Regions from separate parts of the Homo sapiens genome. Here region 2 is linked to region 1. Evidence: promoter capture Hi-C in human tissues and cell types (Jung and others, 2019). All regions are on one chromosome and are shown on one strand. The core of a region is centred on a gene start or on the middle of the fragment in contact, and the rest is flanking DNA. Distances in the headings are between cores, read along the strand shown. Region 1 holds the start of N4BP3 (NEDD4 binding protein 3). Region 2 overlaps LOC128966623 (a long non-coding RNA gene).

Region 1 (6,250 bases), core at 791-3,290:
CCAGGATTAGAAGTCCTCTCGGATCCCACCTTGCATCTCCTCTGGGGTGGGACATTCCAGTCCCCACATGGGCAGGAGTGCTGCCTGCCCTGGCTACAGTCAGCCCCTCCTGAGCCCTGGCCCCAGGGAAAGGTCCCACCACCTGCTGGGGGATCAGCTCTGCTAAGGGGCGTGTCTGCAGCTGCCCCTAAGGAATGGGACTGGAATGTCCCAGCTCCAAAAGGGGGGGGTAGTAGGCAAGGGGGGCCCAGAGAGGGGCTGGGAGAGGCTGGCCCACCCCATCCCCTCTGTGACAGACACTTGAGGCAGAGACAGGGGCTAAAGCCTGCGGAAGTGGTGCTTAGTATCACCATATAGTGCTTCACGGCTGCACCGCAGTCTACAGTTTTTTCTCAGCCCTTCTATTTCATTATCTCATTTCATCTCCACAATAGCCTCGTGGGGGCAAACAGGACAGTAATTACCCTCACGCCATTTTACAGATCGGGAAACTGAGGCCTCGGAAGGCGAGGTGAGTTATCCAAGATCCCACAGTGAGAAGCAATCTCAACTCCCTGGGCAAGGTCCTTTCTACCTCAGCAGGTTGTCCTAAGCCAGGGGTCACGGGTTCCCCTCCATGGGCACACACTGCTGTGTATGTATTGCATATATGTCTGCCCAGCCCTCCATGCCTGTTTCTCCCAAGGACACTTGCAACCAGGCTGCCCTAGACTGCGGTCCACCAGGCCTGGAATCCCTCCTGCTGCCCCCCAGGTCAGGAAGAAATAGAGGAAACCTGCCTCATGGGGACTCCGAGTCGCTATGCTAGCTCTAGAGGCGGTGGCAGAGGCAGGCTGGCCGCATTCATTCACAGTCTGGCACATGCACACCACACGCTGCCAGCCGGTAGAGAAGCCCTGCCTGGGAGGGCCCTGGGAGGAGGCTGATAACCGCGCCCAGGATGGCCTCCTGCGTCCGCTCCCTCCCGAGGACAGCCAGGCCCAATCTGTTCCTATGTGGTTGGGGTCGGGGGGTGGCCCAGTGGGAGGCAACGGGTCTCAGTTCTCTTTCTGGATACAGCCAGGGCCCTGATTTCGGCTTGTCCCCAGGCCAGCCCTCACTTGGGCCAAAGGCTGTGGCCGGGACTGGACCGGGTGCTCTGGCGGTCAAGACCTAGGAATGTCCCCTACCCGCAGACCCGCAGCTGCAGCCTGGTGGACCGGCAGGGGGTTGGGGGATAAAGGAGGTGTGGGAGGAAGCGAGAGATCTCATGGGGAAGTCAGAGGGGCAAACGAGGTTGCATCCCCACGGAATTTGTGTCAGGAAAGCAGGGGTGAAGGCGAGGGTTCCCCAAAGCTGCGGGAGGTCCCGGAGCTACCTGGGGGGCGGGGTGGGAGGCGCGTCTCCTCCTGGCCCCTCCCTGAGGCCTGCCGGGAGCGGCTGGGCCGGGGGGCGGAGGCCGAGGTCAGACGCCGGCGCCAAGGACGCCTGCCCCACCCAGCCGTGGCGCAGGGGTCCCGCGCGCTGCTCCCTGGAAAGCGCGTTTGCAGGGGTTGGGGAGAGCAAGGTAGCCTGCCGCCTGCCCCTCCAGCGGAGCATCGGGGTCGGTCCCCGATCCGGTGCCTCGGTGACCGGGAGCAGGGGACACCTGGGCGCACGCCGCACCTTGCCACCCCCGCCCATCTCTCAGACGGGAGCCTCGGCCAGCGGGACAGCAGCTTTGCCAAGGACGCCCGAAAACAAGACCTTGGCGACCCGCCCCACCCCTCCCCACCCCCCGAGTCCAGCCCGGGTCCCCAGCCCCTCGCGCGCCCCACTTACCATGGTGGCGACGCGCTCGCCGGCCCGCGGCTCCGCAGCCCTTGCGCGTCGCAGCTCCCCCGCGCGGATTTGAACCCTCCTGCAAGGCGTCGGCTCGGGCCGGGACTGCGTGCCGGGTCGGAGCGGCGGAGCGGCAGGCGCCGGGAAAACGCGGGCGGGCGCCGGCGCCGGAGCCGGATTGGCGAGGGAGGGACGCGCTCCGCGGCGCTCGATCGCCTGCCCCAAAGGCGGAGGGAAAACCCGGCCTGACTCACCGGCGCGCGGCAAGCCCACAGCCCGGCCCCGGCCCCCGGATGTGGGGGGCGGGGCCGCCTACCCGCGAGCCAACCTGGGCCCCGCCCGGCCCCGACCGCGCCCCCGGCCCTGACCCGCAGAGGCGCCGCACGGCGGTGGCGGGCGAAACCTGGACCGGCTGCGCCTCGCGTCGCTGCCTCCTTGAGCGCCCCGGCTCGTTCCCGAGGGGTGGGCAGCCCCGAGCGCGGCCCACGCCCCAGAGAGCGCACAGCGCCCCCGCTTCTCCTCCTCCGCCGTTCGCCTCGCCCGCCTCCTCTAAGGAAGAGGCGCGTGAGGTCCCTCACCTCCCTAATTGTAGCCGCCTCCTCTCCGGAAAACCTGATTTCCCCCCTTTGGGGATGAACCACAGTAGTACTTTGAGAAGTGAAAAGATTTTACCCCACGACTCTGGCTGAATTGGGCACAGAGTTATTTTCTTTTTGCCTCCAAAGTATTCTAGGGGCAGCAAAATCAGGTGCCTTCAGGGGCCAGAAAAATTACGCAAATGAGTCGTGAGCTTCCTACTAAGACAGTAGGAAGACATGGAAACAGACACAGACACGTAAAGGAGTCATATTCGAAAAATTAAAACACCGTTTCTAATTCAAAAGTTAAGCATAGAGTTACCATATGATCCGGCAATTATAGTCCTCAAACAAGTAATGTTCTTGGCAGTACTAGTCACAATAGTCAAAGAGCCAAAAGGTGGAAACAGCCCAAACTAACAATTGATGAGGGTGTAAGCAAACAATGGTAGATCCATTCAGTGGAATATTATTCAGCCATAAAAAAGAAATGAACGCCATGTGATGACTCATGTCTGAACTCTCCCAGCACTTTTGGAGGCCAGGAGTTCAGGAACAGCCTGGGCAACTCACAAAACTCCATCTCTATCTTAAAAAAAAAAAGACCTGATGTGGTGGCTCACCCCTGTAATCCTAGCATTTTGGGAGGCCGAGGCAGGCGGCTCACTTGAGGTCAGGAGTTTGAGACCAGCCTGGCCAACATGGCGAAATTCTATCTCTACCAAAAACACCAAACATTAGCCAGGCATGGTGGAGCGAGCCTGTAATCCCAGCTACTCGGGAGGCTAAGGTAGGAGAATTGCTTGAACCCAGGAGGCAGAGTTGCAATGAACGGAGATTGTGCCACTACACTCCAGCCTGGATGATGGCGTAAGCCTGTCTCAAAAAAAAAAAGAAAGAAAAGAAAAGAAAAAGAGGAATGAAACACTGATGATACCTGCTACAACATGGATAAACCTCCAAAACATGGCAAGTGAAAGAAACCAGACACAAAGCCCACATGTGTTAATGATGCCATTTATAATAAGTAAATCCAGACAAACAGAAAGCAGATTAGAGCCAGAGGCTGTGGGGAGAGAGAAAGGCAGAGTGATTGCCTAACAAGCATAGGGTTTCCTTCTGGGATGAGGAAAATGTTTTGGAGCCTGACAGAGGTGGTGGTTGCACAACGTTATGAATATACAAATGTCATTGAATTGTTTGCTTTAAAACGGCTAATTTTATGGTATGCACATTTTACCTCAATTAAAAAACATCTTGTCACTTGTGGAACAGATTTGGTCTACGGCCCACAAATTTGCAACCCCTTGTGTTCTATGCTGTTCTTACCAATTCTTGCTAGGACAGCATAGAACCTCTAGGAAGAACTTCTGGCCAGGCATGGCGGCTCACGCCTGTAATCCCAGCACTTTGGGAAGACGAGGTGGGCAAATCAATTAAGGCAAATGATTTGCCTGCCTCAGCCTCTCAGTGTGCTGGGAGTACAGGCGTGAGCCACCATGCCTGGCTGAAAGAACTTTTTTTTTGAGATGGAGTCTTGCTCTGTCGCCCAGGCTGGAGTGCAGTGGTGCGATCTCAGCTCGCTGCAAGCTCCGCTTCCCGGGTTCACGCCATTCTCCTGCCTCAGCATCCCAAATAGCTGGGACTACGGGTGCCCACCACCACACTCGGCTAATTTTTTGTATTTTTAGTGGAGATGGGGTTTCACCATGTTAGCCAGGATGATCTCGATCCCCTGACCTCGTGATCCACCCCCCCTTGGCCTCCCAAAGTGCTAGGATTACAGGCATAAGCCACTGCGCCCGGCAACTTTTTTTTTTTTTTGAGATGGAGTTTCACCCTTGTTGCCTAGGCTGAAGTGCAATGGCGTGATCTCAGCTCACTGCAACCTCCCCCTCCCAGGTTCAAGCGAGTCTTCTGTCTCAGCCTCCCGAGTAGCTGGTTGGCACAGGTGTGTGCCACCATGCCCGGCTAATTTTGTATTTTTAGTAGAGACGGGGTTGGTCAGGCTGGTCTTGAACTCCCGACCTCAGGTGATCCACCTGCCTCGGCCTCCCAAAGTGCTGGGATTACAGGCGTGAGCCACCACGCCCGGCCAGAATTTCTAATAGAACTGCCAGACTTCAGAATACTTGTCTAAGAAAACTCATTAATAGCTGCTGTGGGTCTCAGCCCTTGAGGAGCCAGTCTGGTAGGGTTACTCACTGGGACAGATAAAGTTTCAGAGCAAGAACCTGTTTGGCTGTTTGGGGGACCCAAGGAAAGGCCTCACTGGAGCAATGGTTTTTGAGATGGTCCTGGAAGCATTTCCACTGAGGAGTGTTCCCAGCAGAGCAGATAGCAGGGCTAGAGAAGGCAGGGCACGTTCAGCTTGCTAGCAAGGTCCAAGCCCTGGGTGGGAAAGGTTAGTGGTGGGAAGGGACGAAGGTGGCAACCGAGAGCAGACCCAGAGAAGCCTCTTGAAGTGGGCGCTGGGAGCCTCCGAAGCATTGAGAGAGAGGAGCTTGTGCACGCAGCTGGACGTGGGGCCTGTGAGGTGGCACAGGCAGGCAGGGAGGTCGGGTCCCCTGGGTCTCTAGGGAAAGAAATGGGGCCAAGGAGGACCTGGAAGCTGGAAGCTGCCGAGAAGGTGTTCATTCTGTCAACTGAGTGGGAGAGACAGTGATAGAGATGTTTATGAGAGGGTTTGAATGAAGGTTCTTATAAGAATCCACTTGCAAGAAATGGCATGAGGAAGAGAGAGAGAGGTCACAGCTAAGTTCTGATGAAAACTCAGATTCTGGGTTGGGTGCAGTGGCTCACGCCTGTAATGCCAACGCATTAGGAGGCCGAGGTGAGAGCATTGCTTAAGCCCAGGAGTTCCCTGGGCGACATAGCAAGACCCCATCTCTATAAAAAAATAAAAAATTAGCCAAGCCAGTGGTGCCTATAGTCCCAGCTACTCGAGAGGCTGAGGCAAAAGGATCCCTTGAGCCTAGGAATCAGAGGCTGCAGTGAGCTATGATCGAACACTGCACTCCAGCCTAGGTGACAGAGCAAGACCCTGTCTTTAAAAAAAAAAAGGCCGGGCACGGTGGCTCACACCTGTGATCCCAGCACTTTGGGAGGCCGAGGCAGGAGGATCACGAGGTCAGGAGATCGAGACCATCCTGGCTAACACGGTGAAACCCTATCTTTATTAAAAATACAAAAAATTAGCAGAGTGTGGTCGTGGGCGCCTGTAGTCCCAGCTACGCGGGAGGCTGAGGCAGGAGAATGGCATGAACCCAGGAGGTGGAGCTTGCAGTGAGCCGAGATGGTGCCACTGCACTCCAGACTGGGCGACAGAGCGAGACTCCGTCTCAAAAATAAATAAATAAATAAATAAATAAAGGCAGGACACAGTGGCTCATGCCTGTAATCCCAGCACTTTGGGAGGCCAAGGCAGGTGGATCACCTGAGATCAAGAGTTCGAGAACCAGCCTGGCCAACATGGTGAAAATCTGTCTGTACTAAAAATACAAAAATTAGGCAGATGTGATGGCGCACTCCCATAGTTCCAACTACTCAGGAGGCTGAGGCAGGAGAATCACTTGAACCTGGGAGGTGGAGGTTGCAGTGTCCCAAGATTGCACCACGGCACTCCAGCAGCCTGGCTGACAGAGCGAGACTCCATCTCAAAAAAAAAAAAAAAGAAAAAGAAGGTGCTCAACTGCACTGCGCTCCTGTCCTGTCCATGCGGGCTGCCTCTTGTTCTCACCCCGTCTCCTTGACCTTGGCCTCCCATTGGCCTTGCTGAGGCCTTTGAGAGAAGAAAGTGGGCTGGGCAGAGGTGAGGAGGCAGAAACCAACAGGAGGCCAGGCCTCTTTTCTTCCCTCCAACATCTGCCTGG
Region 2 (6,250 bases), core at 2,562-5,061, 1.5 Mb before region 1:
TTGATGTATCAAACTGAGGGGGAACCCACTAAATCCAGTCAAGCAGTTTCATAAGATCTTCACAAAATGCCTCTACTTACGGAATCATGTTGATTTTAGTCCTGCTGATGTGTGTACCGTTAGCACTTTGGTTTATCAATATTTGACTGGCTCAAATGATGGATAGAAGGGTGGCCTGGTTATAGACAGTAGGCAGAAGGAGGCAGAGGGTTACAGTAATGTAAGATCAAGACTGGAAAATGATAGCTATAGAATTACAAGCCCGGTACCACCAGGTACCACATCACATAAGAAAAAAGGTTCTAATGTTTTCTTAACTTAACAGCAAACCAGTCCAGCTACGGGGGCCCAGCCAGCCAGCAGCTGAGTGGGGGTTACGGAGGCGGCTACGGTGGCCAGAGCAGCATGAGTGGATACGGTAAAGCCTGTTTGTTACTGTACTTAGAGTAAGTTATGGTAAAGCCTGTTCATTACTGTACTTAGAGTAAGTTATGGTAAAGCCTGTTACTGTACTTAGAGTAAGTCGCAGGCAGGTGCCTTTAGTTGGGAAGATGCAGGCTCCTTTCGGTGAAATTGGGTTATGAAATGTATGCTTTCAATCCAAATGTAACTGTTTTTACTAGCTAATTTTCAGAAACAATCATTGGGAGGGGGAAGTGTTCTTTGAATTAAGAACTAGTCATTGCAGCTTTGGAATACTGTCGAGCCAGAAAATATCTGCCTCCATGTATTAAAACATTAAATAAAGTTGTTCACTTTTTTGTCTTTTGGTTAGCATTAAGTCAGTTTTAGACAGAGGGAGAATTTGAAATAGTAGAATGGTGGTTGGGTTCAGGATCGTATTTATTAGTCAGTTAACCTAGGATTGGTTTTATTTATTTTTTTTCAATTGGTCTAAAGAATGGTGATTTTGGTATTATAGTCTTACCCTACAAAATCCTTTTGCAGACCAAGTTTTACAGGAAAACTCCAGTGATTTTCAATCAAACATTGCATAGGTAAATATTTTCTCAAAAAATATAAATTCCCAATAGCAAATACTGATATGTTGTAATAATGCTTTCTATAGCAGTCAATGGCTCTGACTTAACTCCATGGAGGCTGCCATTTGGGCACAGTGAGTTGCCTTTAGTCCAGCTTGGTTGTCTCACTTCCTGCCCACCATGAATAGGAAAAGCAAGAGACTTCCCCTGTGCTCCCTTTTCTCAAATGCCATTCGAGGGACACATTGTGAATGTTTATGTTAAATTTTTTTTAAAAATGCCTTGTTTAGCTTTAAAAATACGAAGTAATTTTGCAATTTTTGAAAAACACTAGTTTTCCTTTAAACTTAATTTTTCATGTTGATCCTGAAGAATCCGTTAAAATGGTAGCACAAGAGTCTGGCAAGTTGGTACTGCAGAGAAAAGGGGTTAATTGAGGCTTGTTTGGAGTCGGGATTCCCCTTTCCCAAACATGCGTCTCGCCACTTGGACAGCAGCCATTTGTACTCGTATACTTTTTAAACTTTTTCTTGGAATACTATATTTTATTTGACTGGTAGTCTGATATTACTCCTAACTTGTCAAATTGATCTCTTTGCAGGTAACCAAGGAGCAGTGAACAGCAGCTACTACAGTAGTGGAAGCCGTGCATCTATGGGCGTGAACGGAATGGGAGGGTTGTCTAGCATGTCCAGTATGAGTGGTGGATGGGGAATGTAATTGATCGATCCTGATCACTGACTCTTGGTCAACCTTTTTTTTTTTTTTTTTTTTTTCTTTAAGAAAACTTCAGTTTAACAGTTTCTGCAATACAAGCTTGTGATTTATGCTTACTCTAAGTGGAAATCAGGATTGTTATGAAGACTTAAGGCCCAGTATTTTTGAATACAATACTCATCTAGGATGTAACAGTGAAGCTGAGTAAACTATAACTGTTAAACTTAAGTTCCAGCTTTTCTCAAGTTAGTTATAGGATGTACTTAAGCAGTAAGCGTATTTAGGTAAAAGCAGTTGAATTATGTTAAATGTTGCCCTTTGCCACGTTAAATTGAACACTGTTTTGGATGCATGTTGAAAGACATGCTTTTATTTTTTTGTAAAACAATATAGGAGCTGTGTCTACTATTAAAAGTGAAACATTTTGGCATGTTTGTTAATTCTAGTTTCATTTAATAACCTGTAAGGCACGTAAGTTTAAGCTTTTTTTTTTTTTAAGTTAATGGGAAAAATTTGAGACGCAATACCAATACTTAGGATTTTGGTCTTGGTGTTTGTATGAAATTCTGAGGCCTTGATTTAAATCTTTCATTGTATTGTGATTTCCTTTTAGGTATATTGCGCTAAGTGAAACTTGTCAAATAAATCCTCCTTTTAAAAACTGCACTCTGTCTTGTCTGTGCTTCAGTGTCATGTGGACTGAGTCTTGGTGCTCTGTGCCCACCTGGGGCCTAGGGCCACATCTCTGGCTTGGCAGTTGAGGCTGTTGCGTAGATGTCTTCAGTCTTCCCTCCAGTGCAACTGAAGGTAAACTCGTCTTTGGGGCCCTGGTGGAAGGGCTGTATGTCATTTGGCTGCACAGGACCTGATCTGAACTGCCTGTAACTCATTAAGCACTTGCACAAAACAAAGGGGGAGGCGCCAGTGCCCTCACTGCATGCCTGCATGTCTTTGAGGCCTTCATGCTTGGCTGGGAAGGTGCCGGAGGCAAGGGAGGTGTGATGAATATGTGGGTTTCTTCTAGCTCATAAGCTCATAGGTTTGTTTTTTTTTTTGAGGCAGAGTTATATTCTGTTGTCTCAGGCTGGATTGCAGTGGCGTGATCTCAGCTCACCTGCAACCTCCACCTTGTGGGCTTCTGCCTCAGCCTCCCAAGTAGTTGGGGTTACAGGCGCCCACCACCACTCCAGGCTAATTTTTTTTGTATGTTTAGTAGACACGGGGTTTCACGATGTTGGCCAGGCTGGTCTCCAACTCCTGACCTCATGAGATCTGCCCACCTCGGCCTCTGAAAGTGCTGGGATTATAGGCTGGAGCCATTGCCCAGCCTTCACAGATGGTTTTCAAATGGAAGTTTTGAACTTCTGTATTTTTGGGTCATTCCTAAAAATCAATTCCACTTGGAAGCAAAATTCCATGTAAGTCTCCTAAGGTAGAACGATAGGTAGAGATTGAGAGCTAACATGAGAAGTTTAAATGAACTCTTAAATATATCACGTTTTGGTAGTTCGAAGCTCCAACATGATGATAGCAAGTATTCAAGCTGCTTCCAAGTGGTGTACCTGAGCGAGTTAGAAACGCCACACTTGGAGACGAGTTCAGGAGTCCTTTATTAGCCGGCGACCGAGAGACGGCTACCGCATGAAAGTATCTCGGCCTCGAAGAAGGAGCTAGATTTTCTTTTATACTTTGGTTTGGAGAGGGGAGGGGGATTCTAGCTGCAGCCATCTTAGGGAAGAAAAACAGACAAAAAAGTTAAAGACAAATGGTTACAGGAAAACAGTTCCAGGTGCAGGAGCTTCAAATTCATCACAAAGTGACAGGTGAGGGGGCTCTGGGTGTTATCTACCGGACAAACATGGGGGCTTGATGGTACCATCTCTGAGTAAATTGCTGGGAACTGGACATCGCTTGCCTCAGCACCTTATCAGTTAACTGCACTCTTTGATACGTTGAGAGCTTGCACAAGTTAAAGTCCTTGAGGAAAGGGGGGTGGGTAAGGAGCCCTTGATGTCTTGTAAATGAAGGAGCCAAATGGAGTTGGCCTGGTTTTCTCAGCGAAGGGAGTCTTCATATTAAAAACAAGGTTAGGCATGTAAGGGAGAGTCTATTCGTGTTAATACAAGGTTGGGTATCACAAAAGCAGTCCTGAAAAGCACGCTCCCGGGGTTCCTTCAGCAGATGCTCAGGGGTGCTGCAGTGTGGGAACTGCCGCTACTACTTTCATCCCATTAGATTCAAGTCCCTGATAATGAAATTAGAATGTAGTGTCTGAACTAGGCTGTCACATAGGCTTGTGCCTTTTTTTTTTTTTTTTTTTTGAGACGGAGTCTCGCTCTATCGCCCAGGCTGGAGTGCAGTGGCGGGATCTCGGCTCACTGCAAGCTCCGCCTACCGGGTTCACGCCATTCTCCTTCCTCAGCCTCCCAAGTAGCTGGGACTACAGGCGCCCGCCACTACGCCCGGCTAATTTTTTTTTGTATTTTTAGTAGAGACGGGGTTTCACCGTTTTAGCCGGGATGGTCTCGATCTCCTGACCTCGTGATCCGCCCGCCTCGGCCTCCCAAAGTGCTGGGATTACAGGCGTGAGCCACCGCGCCCGGCCGCCCTTTAAAGCGAAGTGTGGATAAGCTTTCTCTTTTCTGCGATTACACGAGCTTTTCTTGAGTTTGTTGTTGGGGTAGAGCTAGGTAGGGTGGACAGAGTGGCTTAGTATCGGTCATTTCTAACCATCTGCCCACAGGAGCAGTGCATGCAGGAGACATGGAGGGGAGGGCTTTGCAGATCTACCTTGCTTGCCCCTACCAGGACTGGACACTAGCAGAGGGAAGGGTCTGGAATGTGTATTGTTGGTTTTGTCTTTGGCAGGTCTAGAGAACAGCAGTTGTCGGGGGAGGCAGTGTTGAGAGTTGTTGAGCTGTGTTCTAAGCTTGGTTACTGCCCTTGAGATCTTGCGTTAATAGTTTGGTACTGAGGCCCAGTATTGAGAAAGATTGAAGGTCCCTTCTCTGGGTTCTTTAGTTAACTGTGGTACATTTAAGGATAAAGCTTGCCCTGTTAGAGAAGGGAGTAGAACTAGAAACTTGGAGTAAGGTTAAACTAAATCCAGAGCCATACGGCTAGTCTAGGGCAGGGGCGGTGGCTAACGCCTGTGATTTCAACACTTTGGGAGGCTGAGGTGGGTGGATCACCTGAGGTCAGGAGTTCGAGACCAGCCTGGCCAACATGGTGAAACCCTGTCTCTGCTAAAAAATACAAAAATTAGCTGGGCATGGTGGTGCACGCTTATAATACCAGTTACTGAGGCAGAGGTTGCAGTGAGCCAAGATCGTGCCATTGCACTCTAGTCTGGGTAACGAGCGAAATTCCTGTCTCAAAAAAAAGTCTAGAAGCATTATGGTTCTTTGGAATCTTATGCTCCATAGCTTGTTTGCAGTAACTTAACCTCCTGACCTTGTCAGTTGGAATCTGCATTTTAAACAAAATCCTGACCACTCACCCCTACCTCAGTTGACTTGGGAAGTGCTGCCTTAAAATATCTATCTTTCATTTCTCAGGCCTGGGTAAAGGTGGTATGGTAGCAGACCAGGGACTGGAGATTCCAGAGTTAGGGCTTGGAATATATTTCAGTTTCTGAGTAGGGAAGTTATCTTGACCAAATATTGCCAACTTTGAAAATTTCACTTAAACACTTGTGTTTATACCCAAGTGTCAGGCACAGAGGTGGGAACCTCCTGCATGTTTTTATACTGAGCTGTCAGAACAGACTTGAAGTAGGGGAGGGATAGATTATTCTGCTTTTGTGTGTGCAGATGAGAGCTAAGACTCAAGTGAACTGACTTGCCTAAGGCTGCCCAGCAAGTTAGGGGTCCAAACTGGGTGTATTGAAAAGGCACAGATGTCATATATGCCAGTTAGGGGTAGTGAGTGATAGGCAGTTTTTTCTGAAAGTTTGGCCCTGTATGAGACGGCAGCTGTTACGGTGAGGGGTGAGGAAAGGGGAGGGCTGCCAATGTGCTTGCCTAATAGGGTTGGAACCCTGCTAGGACATGGCTTTGGAGCAGGGCGGACCTCGTCTTGAAGTCTGGCCGCACAGTCCTAAGCGGTATAGGATGGAGGGGGAATCCTTGAGTCTTGCCCAAGCTCCCACCTTTTCCATCTTCAGAGCGGTTTGAGGGGAGGGAGCGGCAGAGGAGGAATTCAGTTGAGGGTGCCATGCAAGCATCTACCAGGGCTGACCAGGTCGTGGGGGAGCCTGCTTCGGAGGAAGAGCCCAAAGGAGGAGTGGAATCCTGAGGCCTGGATTTGGCGAGGGTAGGAAGCCCGTGGGAAGGGAGGGTAGGGTCGCGGACAAGGTATGTGTATAGAAGGTGGAGAAGGATGAGGCCTGGAAGACTTGACTGTTGGCTGTCTGGACTTGATAATGCTGTTGTCTCTACCGGAAGGGAGCCCCGGGCCATTGGATCTTTGGGGGTGGGGGCCTCCGAGGGAGGGACTGGAAGCCAGTCGTAGCGCTGCATTTGAAATGTGAAAAATGGCTGCCTGGCACG

The links. Contacts are between HindIII fragments. The study calls those that stand out against the background at their distance.
Region 2: a fragment that was not itself captured here is called in contact with the fragment with the promoter of N4BP3 in region 1 in 1 of the 25 tissues and cell types used here (aorta).

The regions. Positions count from the first base shown.
Region 1 is chr5:178,109,322-178,115,571 of GRCh38, reverse strand. It overlaps N4BP3 (NEDD4 binding protein 3), which reads right to left and starts at 2,040. Exons shown (of 5, transcript NM_015111.2): 1 at 1,801-2,040. RefSeq lists silencers at 231-340, 951-1,000, 1,351-1,670, 1,751-2,300 and enhancers at 811-870, 399-912. The HindIII fragment of the contact is 21,734 bases long and covers 1-6,250 here.
Region 2 is chr5:179,610,294-179,616,543 of GRCh38, reverse strand. The region is part of intron 4 of LOC128966623 (a long non-coding RNA gene); the gene reads right to left. HNRNPH1 (heterogeneous nuclear ribonucleoprotein H1) reads left to right here. Exons shown (of 14, transcript NM_001257293.2): 12 at 326-418; 13 at 949-998; 14 at 1,585-2,366. The coding sequence ends at 998. Among named protein-coding and RNA genes, the nearest start is that of RUFY1-AS1, 9.7 kb to the right of the region's middle. RefSeq lists an enhancer at 2,657-2,716. The HindIII fragment of the contact is 3,640 bases long and covers 1,992-5,631 here.